Regions from separate parts of the Homo sapiens genome. Here all the other regions are linked to region 4. Evidence: promoter capture Hi-C in human tissues and cell types (Jung and others, 2019). All regions are on one chromosome and are shown on one strand. Each heading gives the region's core, a stretch centred on a gene start or on the middle of the fragment in contact. The rest is flanking DNA. Distances are from core to core; before and after follow the strand shown.

Region 1 (2,919 bases), core at 16-2,515, 240 kb after region 4:
GAGCTGGGGCTCATTCATCATCACCTGACTGGGCATTTGACATAGAAGTTTCTGCTCTCTGTACCCTCTGCCTCTGACCAATGCCACACTATTCAGGCAGGCGGGCATTTCAGATCACTGCTTGGAGTCCGTGGCAACATCTGGGCACAGGGAAAGGCTTGTGGGGCCCAAGACACTGCAAAGGCTCTCCAGGTGCTTCTTAGGGGTTTTAACATTAATAATAAGTCACTCAAAAATTCTTTTCTCTGAGGAGGAGAACATACTCCAACAATTAGACTAGCAACATTCCTGTTCATACTGTGCAGGGAAGTTCTGAGGATATTTCTGTGATAAGATTTTAAAATCCAGTTAGGTTTCTCACATATGAAGTACACTTTTTCTTCATTCAGCTGGAATAGTTTTAAAGTTATATTTATATTTATTCTAGCAAATAAAAATTTGCTATTTATAAAGACAAAATTAATATTTTTGAAGTTGGAATTTATGAGCCAATTGTTAATTTCTTTTTAGATTATAAGAATAAAAAAATAAATATTTCTTTAAATTATACAGGGAGTCAATTCCTTTATTGTTTAAATTAGTCAAACACCACCCACTCCACCCACCCTAAAGCAAAATGAATGGCCTCAACATCACACTCTCCCAGGTTGGTCCCTCTGGGGCATGTTAACTTGAATCTTTTCGAAGTGCATGTTCCTTCTAAATCATATTCCCAAACCATGACATGGACATGCTGTCACTATTAAGGACAGGAGTCATGAGCCCACTTCCCCTTTTCCGCTGGGGAACATAAAGCTAATTCAGCCTTTAATTTCTAATCCACTTTCCAATCTACTTTCCCAAGAACTGATGGTGGTACAGTCACTGAGGTGACTTCATTCTGTTTTCTTAGACAGAGTTTGTTCTGTGTACAGATGATTTGTTGTCTATTTAGGAAGATCCTTGTGGATTTTTGCTGCTACCAAAGTAGCGAGAGTGTTAAGCCTAAACACAGGTCCTCCAACCTTACTATTTAGTCTAATTTTAGAAAATGCTGAGAAAATGGCTTCACCAACTTCCCAGTCCATACCCACTGACCGGGACTTACCACTGTAAATACTTTTGTTGCCAGTTGCCCTAGTGATAGAGGGAGCTCACTGAAGTATTTTACAGAGGGAAGAGAGGACCAAGCTAGCTCAATTCTTTCCTTGGGGATTGGGGATAAGGGAAAGTTGATTACTCAGTGGCAGTCAGCTGACCTACTCACTCACAATGCACTAATATACAGAGACTCAAATGAGCTCTTTATAAAGTCCCTGAGGTAATATGTGGGATAAATAATTCTTCTGTAAATATGGGTTAGAAATCACTTTTAACTTGGATTCTATGCTGACCTCTGGAGGCCAAAGTGGAGGCTTCGTTGCTGAAAGGGGCCAGGGGCCAGCCCCGTCTTGCCTGTGAGACCTTTCCACAATGGGGAAGAGCTGACAACCCTCAAAGGCAACACTATAACCCAGCCCTGGATCATTTCTGAATCAAGCAAGTCTGTTATGTGAGGGTACTTGAACACACACAAAGCTCTTAGCCAATACTTGCTTCGATGGGGGAATGTTATGAGTTTTAAGAATAATTCCATTTACCCAGGCTGTACTTCCTTGCCCAATTAATAATTACAATTTTGACAAATATCAAAAGGCACCTTGAAAGAAAATGAAGAAAAAGCAAATCATGAATAAAATAATTTTCCAATTTCAGAGGTTAAAACAGGGTCTTTGAGGACTAAACTAAATTATATAGCTGCTATTAGTAGCATTATGCTTTACTTCATAATTGGATGTAACACGCTCAGCCTTACTACGGCGTGAACAGCAGCAGCAGGAGTGGAGTTCAGACTGTTTACCCTTTACAGTATCCACAATTATCAACAGCACACCACACAGATTATAAGCACCAGCCACTTGTAATGTGGCATTTTGAATAGATAAGCAGAAGTGCAATATGGCCGTGTTTTTAACACAATGTACTGACTTCACAGCCCAGCCCAAGCCTATTTTCAGAGCTATGTACAAAAATACAGAAAAATAAACACTTCAGGGTGGTTTTGCGAAAGTTTATAAAAAAAAAACCCACGGCATGTAAAATTATATTTCAAAGAACATTTGCATGAATGAGAGTATTTTTACCAACTAGCATCAAGCCAGCTGTAATCTCGAAGTCACATCTCTACCTTACAAAACGATTTGCTATCTTACTATCCGAAAGGTTTTGAACCACACTATGAGGGCAATGAATTTGATTCTCAGCCTTGAGGAGACCAAAAGGCTGGGGAGGAGAGGGAAGTGTTTTATTTTTCTCCCCTTGCAAGGATGGACTGAAAAGCAATATTTTTAAAACATGCTACACCTTTGGCTGCCTGGTTCCTGAGCACACTGGCTGCATGGTGTGGGCACAGTTTAACAAAAGCACTGGCAGAAAAGTGCGGAATGGCACCGTTTTGATTACAGGCTTGCTTTTTAACGGAAATAAAATTTCACAGTTAACAATGAGAGGTGAAAAGTTTAAGAGGCAAAGCTGTTCCTCCTGATCACTGACTGTTAATCAGCTTCATGGGTGGTTGCCTAAATCTGTAGATTTTTTTTTTTTTTTTACCTTGCACTACTGCCAAGTAACTAATTTTTTCCCCTGTTGTAAGAGGAGGGGTGAAAAACTCGGCTTCGAAGGCAGCTGTGTATGAGTGACGCGAGGCACTAATGCAGAGGGCAAAATTAAAATTCATGAATCTCTTCACGACCATTTGTGTAACAAGATTAAGACGGGACAGCGGAAAAGAGCGGCATTATCAGGCGTCTTACAGTCCTCCAGCTGGTTACGCTCTATTCCAACACAGTAGGGCTAAGAGGATAACACGCAGCCTGAAGGAAAACGCCGCTCCTCCATTGG
Region 2 (2,782 bases), core at 95-2,594, 190 kb before region 4:
CAGCAATGGTGGCAGTGGGTAGAGAGAGCCTGTCCTCAGGGTATGTGTAAGTGTGCTGCAGCCCTGCTGCTGGGGGTTGGGGTTGCTATCAGAGGCAGTGCCCCCAGGCAGGTGACTGTCATGTGCTGGAGAGCATGACATTCAGCTCCCTTTGTCCTGGGGTAGCCTCCCCAGTGTGCTGCAACGTGCAGGACACTGGGTGTGCTAGAGTGTTGGTGCTCCTGTCATATTGCTGGGTCCAGCTGGAATCATGCCACTGCAGTCCTCTGGGTGGATGAAGGAGGATGTCAGTGAGGCTCTAGGGATGTGAAGACACAGGAGCTGTTGGACCCCAGGACAGGATGCAGTCTGATGGGGGCTGGGCTCTCAAAATGTTGTTGTGCTGCAGCTCTTTGGTCTTAGGGGTATATGAACTCACCCAACAGAAGATCCCTCTCTGGAGCAATGCCACTGCATGGATTCCAGGCAGCTCCATATACTGGCCTCAGGGCCTGCAATGAGTCTTTATTGAAACCCACTATGTGCCTAGTCCCAAGGGAAGCACTGTAGGAAGGAAAAAAGCAGAGGCAGGAATGGCAGGAAAGGGCCCACACTGTGGATTTCAGCCCTACACCCTGCTCATCCCTCCCTGTGCAAGCTCTCACTGAGGTGTAAGCTCTTGCCTAACTGCATTCACTGTAGCATAGCCCCTGGAGTGATACCAGTCACATGGACAACCCTTGTTTTCAGCAAGAACGAGTTATCAAGATTGAGCTAGCAAATCTTCAGGGAAGACAGCCTGGTCCTAACTTCTGTCATAACATTTTTCTTTGGTGATGAAGCATCACTGGGTTTGTTGAAAGCTCATTCAGTGTTGCTAACGCTTAAGCGCTCAGGCATCCCTCAGGTCCAAGCGGAGGATTAGGGTGGGGAGCAGCAGGCAGTTCTTGGCTAATTAGCTCAGAGGCACAGCTGTGCTGTTGAAGTCTATGCTCCCTACACTGTAACTTACAAGTAGAGTTGTATGAGAATACTGTGCATAAAACTGTAGATGCTGGAGTCAGACTGCCCTGAGTTCATTTCTAGACTCTGCCATTTGCTGGCTATGGGATCTGGGCAAGCCTGTTTTTAAGCTATTAATAAAGTAATACTTTGCTCCCTGCTTAACTTGGATAAAGTCCAATTTATCTTATTCTCTTTTGTAAATTATGTTTTTGGTTTTGTACCCAAGAAATATGGCCCAAGATGTCTTAGTCCAATTTGTGTTGCTATAACAGAATACATGAGATTTAGTAATTTATAAAGAAGAGAAATTTACTTCTTATAGTTCTTAAGTCCAAGATCAAGGCAACAACAGGTTTGGTGTCTGGTGAAGGCCTGGTTTCCACTTCCAAGATGGTGCCTTGAACACTGCATCCTCCAGAGAAAGGAACATTTTTCCTCACATGGCAGAAGAGTGGAAAAGCAAAGGGAGAGAACCTACCCACAAAGGCCCTTTTCCAGAGACATTAAACCCATCTATGAGGGTGGAGCCCTCATGGCCCAATCACCTCTTAAAGGCCCACATCCCAATACCATTACATTGGCAATAAAATTTCAATCTGAGTTTTGAAGAGAATACACATTAAAACCATAACACAAGGTCACAAACAATTTATCCTATATTTCCTTCTAGATATTGTATAGTCTAAGATTTATATTTAGGTCTATGATCTATTTTTAGTTTTGAATATGCTACAAGGTAAGGAGGGTAGAGAGAGGTTCCGTCTCTCTTTTTGCCTTTTTCCTTCCTTTCATCTTTCTTTCTTTCTTTTTTTGAGTATATGAACATGTAATTGTTCCAGTACCATTTATTGAAAAGAACATTCTTTCTTCATTGAATTGTCCCTGCACCTTTGTGGAAAGCCCATCAATAGTATATTTATGGATCTATTTTAGGACCCTCTATTCTGTTCTACTGATCTACACATCTGTTCTTCGGTCAAGAAGACTATCAACTTTGTCTTTCCTTATAAAAAATATATTGGTAATCCTAGGTCATTTGTACTTTCATATACATTTTATAATGGACTTTTAATTGGTACAAAGAGAGCCTACTAAAATTTCGCATTGAATCTATAGACAAATTTGGGGAGAACTGACATCTTGACAACATGGAGTCTTGTAATCCATGAACACAGTATATTTCTCCATATATTTATGTCTTCTTCGATTTATTTCAGCAATATTTTGTCATTTTTTAGTGTATAGGTCTTGCACATCTTTTGTTAAATTTATTCCTAAATATTTTTGTCATTCTTGTAAATTAATGGTTTTCAATTTCTTTTTCTAATTTTTTGCTGCAAATTAATAAAATATAAAATCAATTTTTATATATTCACCGTGTAACATGTGACCTTGCTAAATTCATTTGTTAGTTCTAATTGTAGTTGTGTAGATTCTTTAGAACTGTTTATACAAAAAATTATCACCTGCAAATAGACACAATTTTACTTCTATCTTTCTGATCTTTAAAAGCTTTATTTCTTTTTCTTGCCTTAGTGTAATGGCTAGGACTGATGGTACAATGTTGCATAGAAGTCATAAGAGTGGGCATCCTTGCCTTGTTTCCAAACTTGCTGGGAAACTGTTCCATATTTCATCATTAAAGATGCCCTTTATCAGGTTGAAGAAGTTCTTTTCTGTGCTAGATTGCTGAGAGTTTTTATTATGAACATATATTAAATGTGGTCAAATACTTTTTCTGCATCCATTGAAATGATTGTATGGCTTTTCTACTTTATTCTCTTAATGTGGTATATTA
Region 3 (2,770 bases), core at 123-2,622, 150 kb before region 4:
GATTTGATTCAGAAAAGAACACAGGCAAAGCAACATCTGCTTATCGTCTTGATTCTCTGGAGCAGTTAATCCTTGGCTCTGAATGAAAACTGGGAAAACAGAGGCTTGGAAGCCAGATGCTACAAATGAGGAAATGCATTGCTTTGTCATTGCTGAATGAACCCCCTGTCTTTAACTCCAGCTCCCTGCATTTGGGGTAAATAATCTCACTGAGCAACTTGATTAGATCTAAGCCACGCATTTAGTTTTTCCTAAAACATTTTTGTCACAGCCGTGAAGATGTGAACGAAGCATCTACACAAGTGACTAGGTGTACACAGCCCAGCCTCACCTGATGTGACCTTCAGTCAGAGAAGCAGAAGATGCCTACAGACTGGCAAGTGCATGGAACCAGCCCCAGGCTAAACAGTGACTGCTAAAAGGCTGTTAAGTGTGCAAAGGAGCTCATCCCTAAAGGTGGGATTCCAGGCCCTGAGACAAAGTGGAATAAGGTGAGTCCAGGGAGAAAGGATTCATGGCTCATGAGGAACAAATCATTGCTTCCCTGTAGAAAATGGGCACCATAGTTCTCTTTGCTGTCACCACTGCCAGCATCTCCTTTTCCGCTCTTCTTTCCTACTCCTTGCTTGTTTCTTGTTTCCCACTCTAATTTCAAGGCCATTTTTTCTTTCTACACTTTTGCTTCCTTTTCTAGGCTTGGGGCCTGGAATTCATGGCACTTCTGGAGACATGAGGTACCTTCAGTTTCAGAAAATAAGAAGCATGTGAATCTCATCTTGGGTAGGTTTTCTTTAATTTGGTTAGGATAGTGATACTATCTTTATACAATCCCAGTAATGGAGATGCATGTATCTGAATATTTAGTGTCATGCCAACCACATGTTGAATTGTTGACAACACTTATCTCAAAGGCTCTTAAGATGACAAGGTAGTGCACCTCCAATGGAGGATCCCAGGCAATGAGACAGAACAGTGTGAGTGACATTCAGGGTAGAGGAGATATTCCAGCCCTTCTCCAGTTACACCAAATGGCCAACCATCTAGTTCAATTATGTAAAAGGCAGCCTGCATCAATGTTCATCTGCATATGAGATTTGCTTGTAAACTAAAATGACTTCTGATAAAATTAGCTTCTACAGCCAAGAGATATGGGGCCTTTAAATTTCACATTAGTAATCTTTTTTTTTTTTTCAATTGAGCATTCCTCCAGCAAAAAAGTGACCTCTTAAGCTCTTAAGGCCCCATCTGTAAGAATGAGTTGACTGGGTGACTTAGCTCCATGAACGGAGAGGTAGAGCAGCATTCATTTATTCATGCAACAAATACTTAATAAGGGGTGGCGGGGGGGGGGGGCTTTCTGGCAGAATGTGGGGAGGGGCAGGTATTACTAGCTTTATTCACACTTCAGATTGAGCCTCCTGGGCAGCAGGACCTGCTTTGCAAACACAGCCAGAGTCTCTGAGAGAGGTCTCTCTGCCTCACAGTGAAGAATTAACCTCCAGAAATCAAGAGAAGAGGAAGAGAAGAAGAGTCTATAGGCTCCGTAATGTCAGCTTGCCATTCAGAATGGTACAGCAAGCAAAGTCTTCCTTCCCTTGCTTTGCCTTCTAGAATTTGGCAGAAAAGAGCCCTCAGAAGCTCTGCATGAGCATGGCCACTTCTCTCTTGAGCAGGTCAAGCGGGAGCCCTCTGCTCTGAGGCTGCTTGGAAGGGAGTTGGAAAGGCCCTTCCAGGCTCGCCCCTCAGCCTCTCTCTAATGCTGGCTTACTCTCCTGGTCCAAGCACTGGATCAAACTCCGCTGGGAAAAGAACCAGATTAAGTCCTATGCAGGCATTAACCCTCAGTGGGACAGTGGTGAGGAAGCAGCAGCTGGTAAAAAGAAAAAGAGAGAAGGAAAGAAGAGAGAGAAAAGAAAGAAAGAAAGAGAGAGGAAGAAAGAAAGAAGGAAAGAAAGAAAAAAGAAAGAAAGGGAGAGAAAGGAACAGAGAGAGAAAGAAGAGAGAGCGAGAGAAACAAAAGAAAGGAAAGAAAGAAAGAAAAGAAAGGGAGAGAAAGAAAGAAAAGAAAGGGAGAGAAAGGAAGGGAGAGAAAGAGAGAGAAAGGAAGAGATAGCGACAGAAAGAAAAGAAAGAGAAAGAGAGAGAGAGAGAAAAGAGAGAGAGAGGAGAGAGAAAAAGGGAGAAAGAAAGAAAAGAAAGAAAAAAGAGAAAAAGAAGAAAGAAAAAGAAGAAAGAAAAAGAAAGAAGAAAAAAGAAAGAAGAAAAAAAAAAAGAAAAGAAAGAGCGAGCCAGGTATTTGGAATAAGACAACTTGGATTCAAATCTTAACACTTCTTAGTTGCATGATCTGGGACAGGTTACTTAACCTCTTGGAGAGATGGATATTTATTTCCTTCATTACTGGTGAAACGAGGAGAATGATATTGCAGGCTGATATGAGAGTTCAGAGAGAATGTTTGTTAAATACATTTTTCTGTTATAGAGCAGTTTGGTTATAGTGGCAGTCATTATTAATTGATTTTATCAGATCTTTCTTTGAGTGACAGCTGGCTGGGAGGAAGTCTGGCAGGAGGCCTGGGGAGGAGGGATGGAGGAAGGGAAGGTGAGGCCTCCCCCATGAGAGTGTGGTCCAAGGCAGGCTGGCCTGCAAGGGCTGCTGGGATCTAGAAGGCACAGGAAGCCACAGGGAAATAGAGGAGGAATACAGGGGAAAGGGGGATGTAGGAAAGAAGTGAGAAAGATCCCCAAATCAAAGTGCTGATCTGGGGAG
Region 4 (3,176 bases), core at 404-2,903:
AAATATATGCCTTACCATAGACACCAAGCAAAACCAAAAGTTGAACCCAGGGCTCTAGACTCCCATTCCGCGCTCCTAGCACAAACTCCATAGAAAGCATAAAAGGGTGGGAAAGAAGGAACTGGCCTAGACTCGGGTTCCATAGCCCTAGACTGGCTGAGGGCAGAGCCCAGGATTTGTGCTGGCTTGGGTCAGGCACTGAGTATGGCCCTAGGAGCTCCTGGCCTGCAGCAGCTGAGGGGGGAAGAGGAGGAAACTGAAGGAAGTGGAAAGGACATGTCCGGGAAGGAGCTAAGCCCCGGGCTTTTCAAAACGTAGAGCAAGAACACACCCATCCTCAGTTCTCCCACCTTTGTGCGAGCCCTTCTCCCACAGGACCAGCACCACATGTTTCCATTGGCACCCTGACAAAGAAGCAAAAAACAGGACCCCCTTTTAAAGCACCTCATCCCGGAGCTCAGCGAGCCGGTTCCCAGGCTGGAGTGGCCAGGAGCCGAGCCGATCCCCAGCGGCGAAGCGGGAGGACTGGGAATCTTGCCTCCGTTCTCCTCCCCGACCACCCACCGGGGAAGCCCCACCACCGTCCTAGAGTCCCTGCCGTCGCCCCTCTCCCCCGCCCCGGTGGGCAGACTGCGGGTCTGCGCCGTCCGGGGTTCTGCGTCGCAGCTGCCGGCCGGAGTCAGCTTCCATAGAGGCCACACGGAACTGCCTGGCGCTCCTCGGGCTGTGGGACCCGTGGGGTTAAGTCTGAGTCCCCGCCCGGCGAGGAGCAGAGAGCGCAGAGTTGGGGCGGTACAGGCCGCCAGGCAGCCGGCGGGGCTAGGAGAGGGAGGAAAGGCGGGATCCTCCGGGAAGTCGATTCTCCGGCGTCCGCCTGCGGCCACTGCCAAATCTTCCCCATTTCTTTCGTCTACTCCCTCCCCTTTTCCCTCGAGGACCGCTGAGTCCAGAGTTTCTAGGATGGGGGTGGGGCGCTGTCAGCAGAAAAAGCCAAGTCTTTGGGCGGCACCCGAGCACGTCCAAACTCTCCCATCCCACTGGCCTGCGCCGGGGTAGAATGTGCCCGGTGAACAGAGAGCCTGGGAGGGACGCGGTGACCTGGGGAGAAGGGGAACCCTGTAGGGTCTGGGCGAGGCTGCAGAGCCCTCTCCTAGCCAAAGCTGCCCAAACTTTCTTCCCCTGGAGTCTCCTTCCACCCCTCTCCCTCCCCTTCCTCCTGGACACCCCCTTAAACGGTCTCCGCCTTCCCTTCTCTCCTCTTCTCTCCCCACCTCGATCCACCCCTTTTCGTCTTCGCCCGCTCCCCCCGCTCTCCTGTCCTCCTCCTCCCTCCCTCTTTGGGCATCCGCCCCGTCAATCTCCGCCGCCGCCGGCCCCAACCCGGCCCCTCTCCGCCTCCCAGGCTCTCAGAGCGCCCCAGGCTCCAGTAGAGCCGCCCTCAGTTCTGCGCGGAGCGGGGCGATCTGTCAGCGGAGCCGGCCGGGGGGAGCCGCCCGGCCCGCCGAGGCTCGGGTTACCAGTGACTGACAGCGTCTCCATGGCGAATAATTTGACTCCGACTATTGTCTGGCGCTGGCAGGCCCCGGGTCAGATAACCGGACCAATCAGGGCGCGGGCCGCCGCGCCTCATGCCCGCTTAGAATAATATTATTAAGAAAGCTGAGAGCCAGCTAGACGGGAGGGAGAACGAGTGAGAAGCGAGCGAGGGAACGGCGGGCGGGCGCGGAGCATGCGGAGCGGCGCCCCGGGCGGCCCCCGGGCTTGGGCGAGGGCTTGGGCCAGGCGCGCGGGCCGTTGGGGTTCGGAGCTTCGTGGGACCCGCGGCCGGCGCGGGGACGTACGGCAGTGACTCGGGGCTCACCGGGGGCCAGTGCCGGGCCAGGGGGCCAGCCCCGCCCGCGTCTCGGCCCGGACGGCCCGGCGAGGAAGCTCCCATGCGGGACCGCGCGGCCCGGTGAGGGCGCGCGCGGGCGGGCGGGGACGCAGCCGGCACCATGTCCATGCTGCCCACCTTCGGCTTCACGCAGGAGCAAGTGGCGTGCGTGTGCGAGGTGCTGCAGCAGGGCGGCAACATCGAGCGGCTGGGCCGCTTCCTGTGGTCGCTGCCCGCCTGCGAGCACCTTCACAAGAATGAAAGCGTGCTCAAGGCCAAGGCCGTGGTGGCCTTCCACCGCGGCAACTTCCGCGAGCTCTACAAGATCCTGGAGAGCCACCAGTTCTCGCCGCACAACCACGCCAAGCTGCAGCAGCTGTGGCTCAAGGCACACTACATCGAGGCGGAGAAGCTGCGCGGCCGACCCCTGGGCGCCGTGGGCAAATACCGCGTGCGCCGCAAATTCCCGCTGCCGCGCTCCATCTGGGACGGCGAGGAGACCAGCTACTGCTTCAAGGAAAAGAGTCGCAGCGTGCTGCGCGAGTGGTACGCGCACAACCCCTACCCTTCACCCCGCGAGAAGCGTGAGCTGGCGGAGGCCACGGGCCTCACCACCACACAGGTCAGCAACTGGTTCAAGAACCGGCGGCAGCGCGACCGGGCGGCCGAGGCCAAGGAAAGGTACGAGTAAGTAGACCTTCTTCGGCGCCAGCTCCCCGGGGCCCAAGGGAGGGGTTCGCAGGGCTTCTGCCGGTCCCCCGGAGAGGCCTAAACTGGGCCCCCAGGCCCGGCCACAGCCCAGCGGCAGCCCGGCCTGACTTGGACGATGCTTAGGCCTTTCTATGCCGGAGACCCGGCGAGCAGGGATTTGTCTAAAGCGGGCAGAGCAATTCAGGAAGTTGTCAACTAACTACTCGGTCGCTAGAGGAAAAGGGTGGAGAAGCAGAGAGCTTCGGGGCAGCGCAGAACTGTGGGCCTGTATCCCCTGTGAGGCAGGCACAGTAGGTCTGGTCATCCTCAGGACAGAGGGGTTTGAGCCCAGATGAAAGGGGATTTGCAGATTTCTTGCTGGTGGTGCTTCCCGGCATTTCCCCCCAGCCTTAGCTCCAGGCCAAAGTGTGATGGGGTCGGGACTGGGGCTGGAACTTCCCTAGAATGACCTGGATGGGGAAAAGCCAGGCCATGAATTTTCGTTGTCACATGGAGTTGAGAGCGGGTCCTTTATCTCCTTAGAAAGGATCCAGAGGTGAAAGGGAGGAAGTGTCAGTTCTGGGAGAGAAGAGACGCATGCCCTGTTTTCTGC

The links. Contacts are between HindIII fragments. The study calls those that stand out against the background at their distance.
Region 1: a contact is called between a fragment that was not itself captured here and the fragment with the promoter of SIX2 in region 4, in 2 of the 25 tissues and cell types used here (H1 embryonic stem cells and mesendoderm cells).
Region 2: a contact is called between a fragment that was not itself captured here and the fragment with the promoter of SIX2 in region 4, in 2 of the 25 tissues and cell types used here (mesendoderm cells and thymus).
Region 3: a fragment that was not itself captured here is called in contact with the fragment with the promoter of SIX2 in region 4 in 1 of the 25 tissues and cell types used here (neural progenitor cells).

The regions. Positions count from the first base shown.
Region 1 is chr2:44,768,835-44,771,753 of GRCh38, reverse strand. The region is part of intron 10 of CAMKMT (calmodulin-lysine N-methyltransferase); the gene reads right to left. Among named protein-coding and RNA genes, the nearest start is that of LINC01833, 170 kb to the left of the region's middle. The HindIII fragment of the contact is 4,294 bases long and covers 1-2,919 here.
Region 2 is chr2:45,198,171-45,200,952 of GRCh38, reverse strand. The region is part of intron 1 of LINC01121 (long intergenic non-protein coding RNA 1121); the gene reads left to right. Among named protein-coding and RNA genes, the nearest start is that of LINC01121, 55 kb to the left of the region's middle. The HindIII fragment of the contact is 4,686 bases long and covers 1-2,782 here.
Region 3 is chr2:45,154,121-45,156,890 of GRCh38, reverse strand. No RefSeq gene overlaps it. Among named protein-coding and RNA genes, the nearest start is that of LINC01121, 99 kb to the left of the region's middle. The HindIII fragment of the contact is 7,800 bases long and covers 1-2,770 here.
Region 4 is chr2:45,007,929-45,011,104 of GRCh38, reverse strand. SIX2 (SIX homeobox 2) reads left to right here and starts at 1,653. Exons shown (of 2, transcript NM_016932.5): 1 at 1,653-2,554. The coding sequence starts at 1,995. RefSeq lists enhancers at 581-1,180, 2,185-2,958. The HindIII fragment of the contact is 8,583 bases long and covers 1-3,176 here.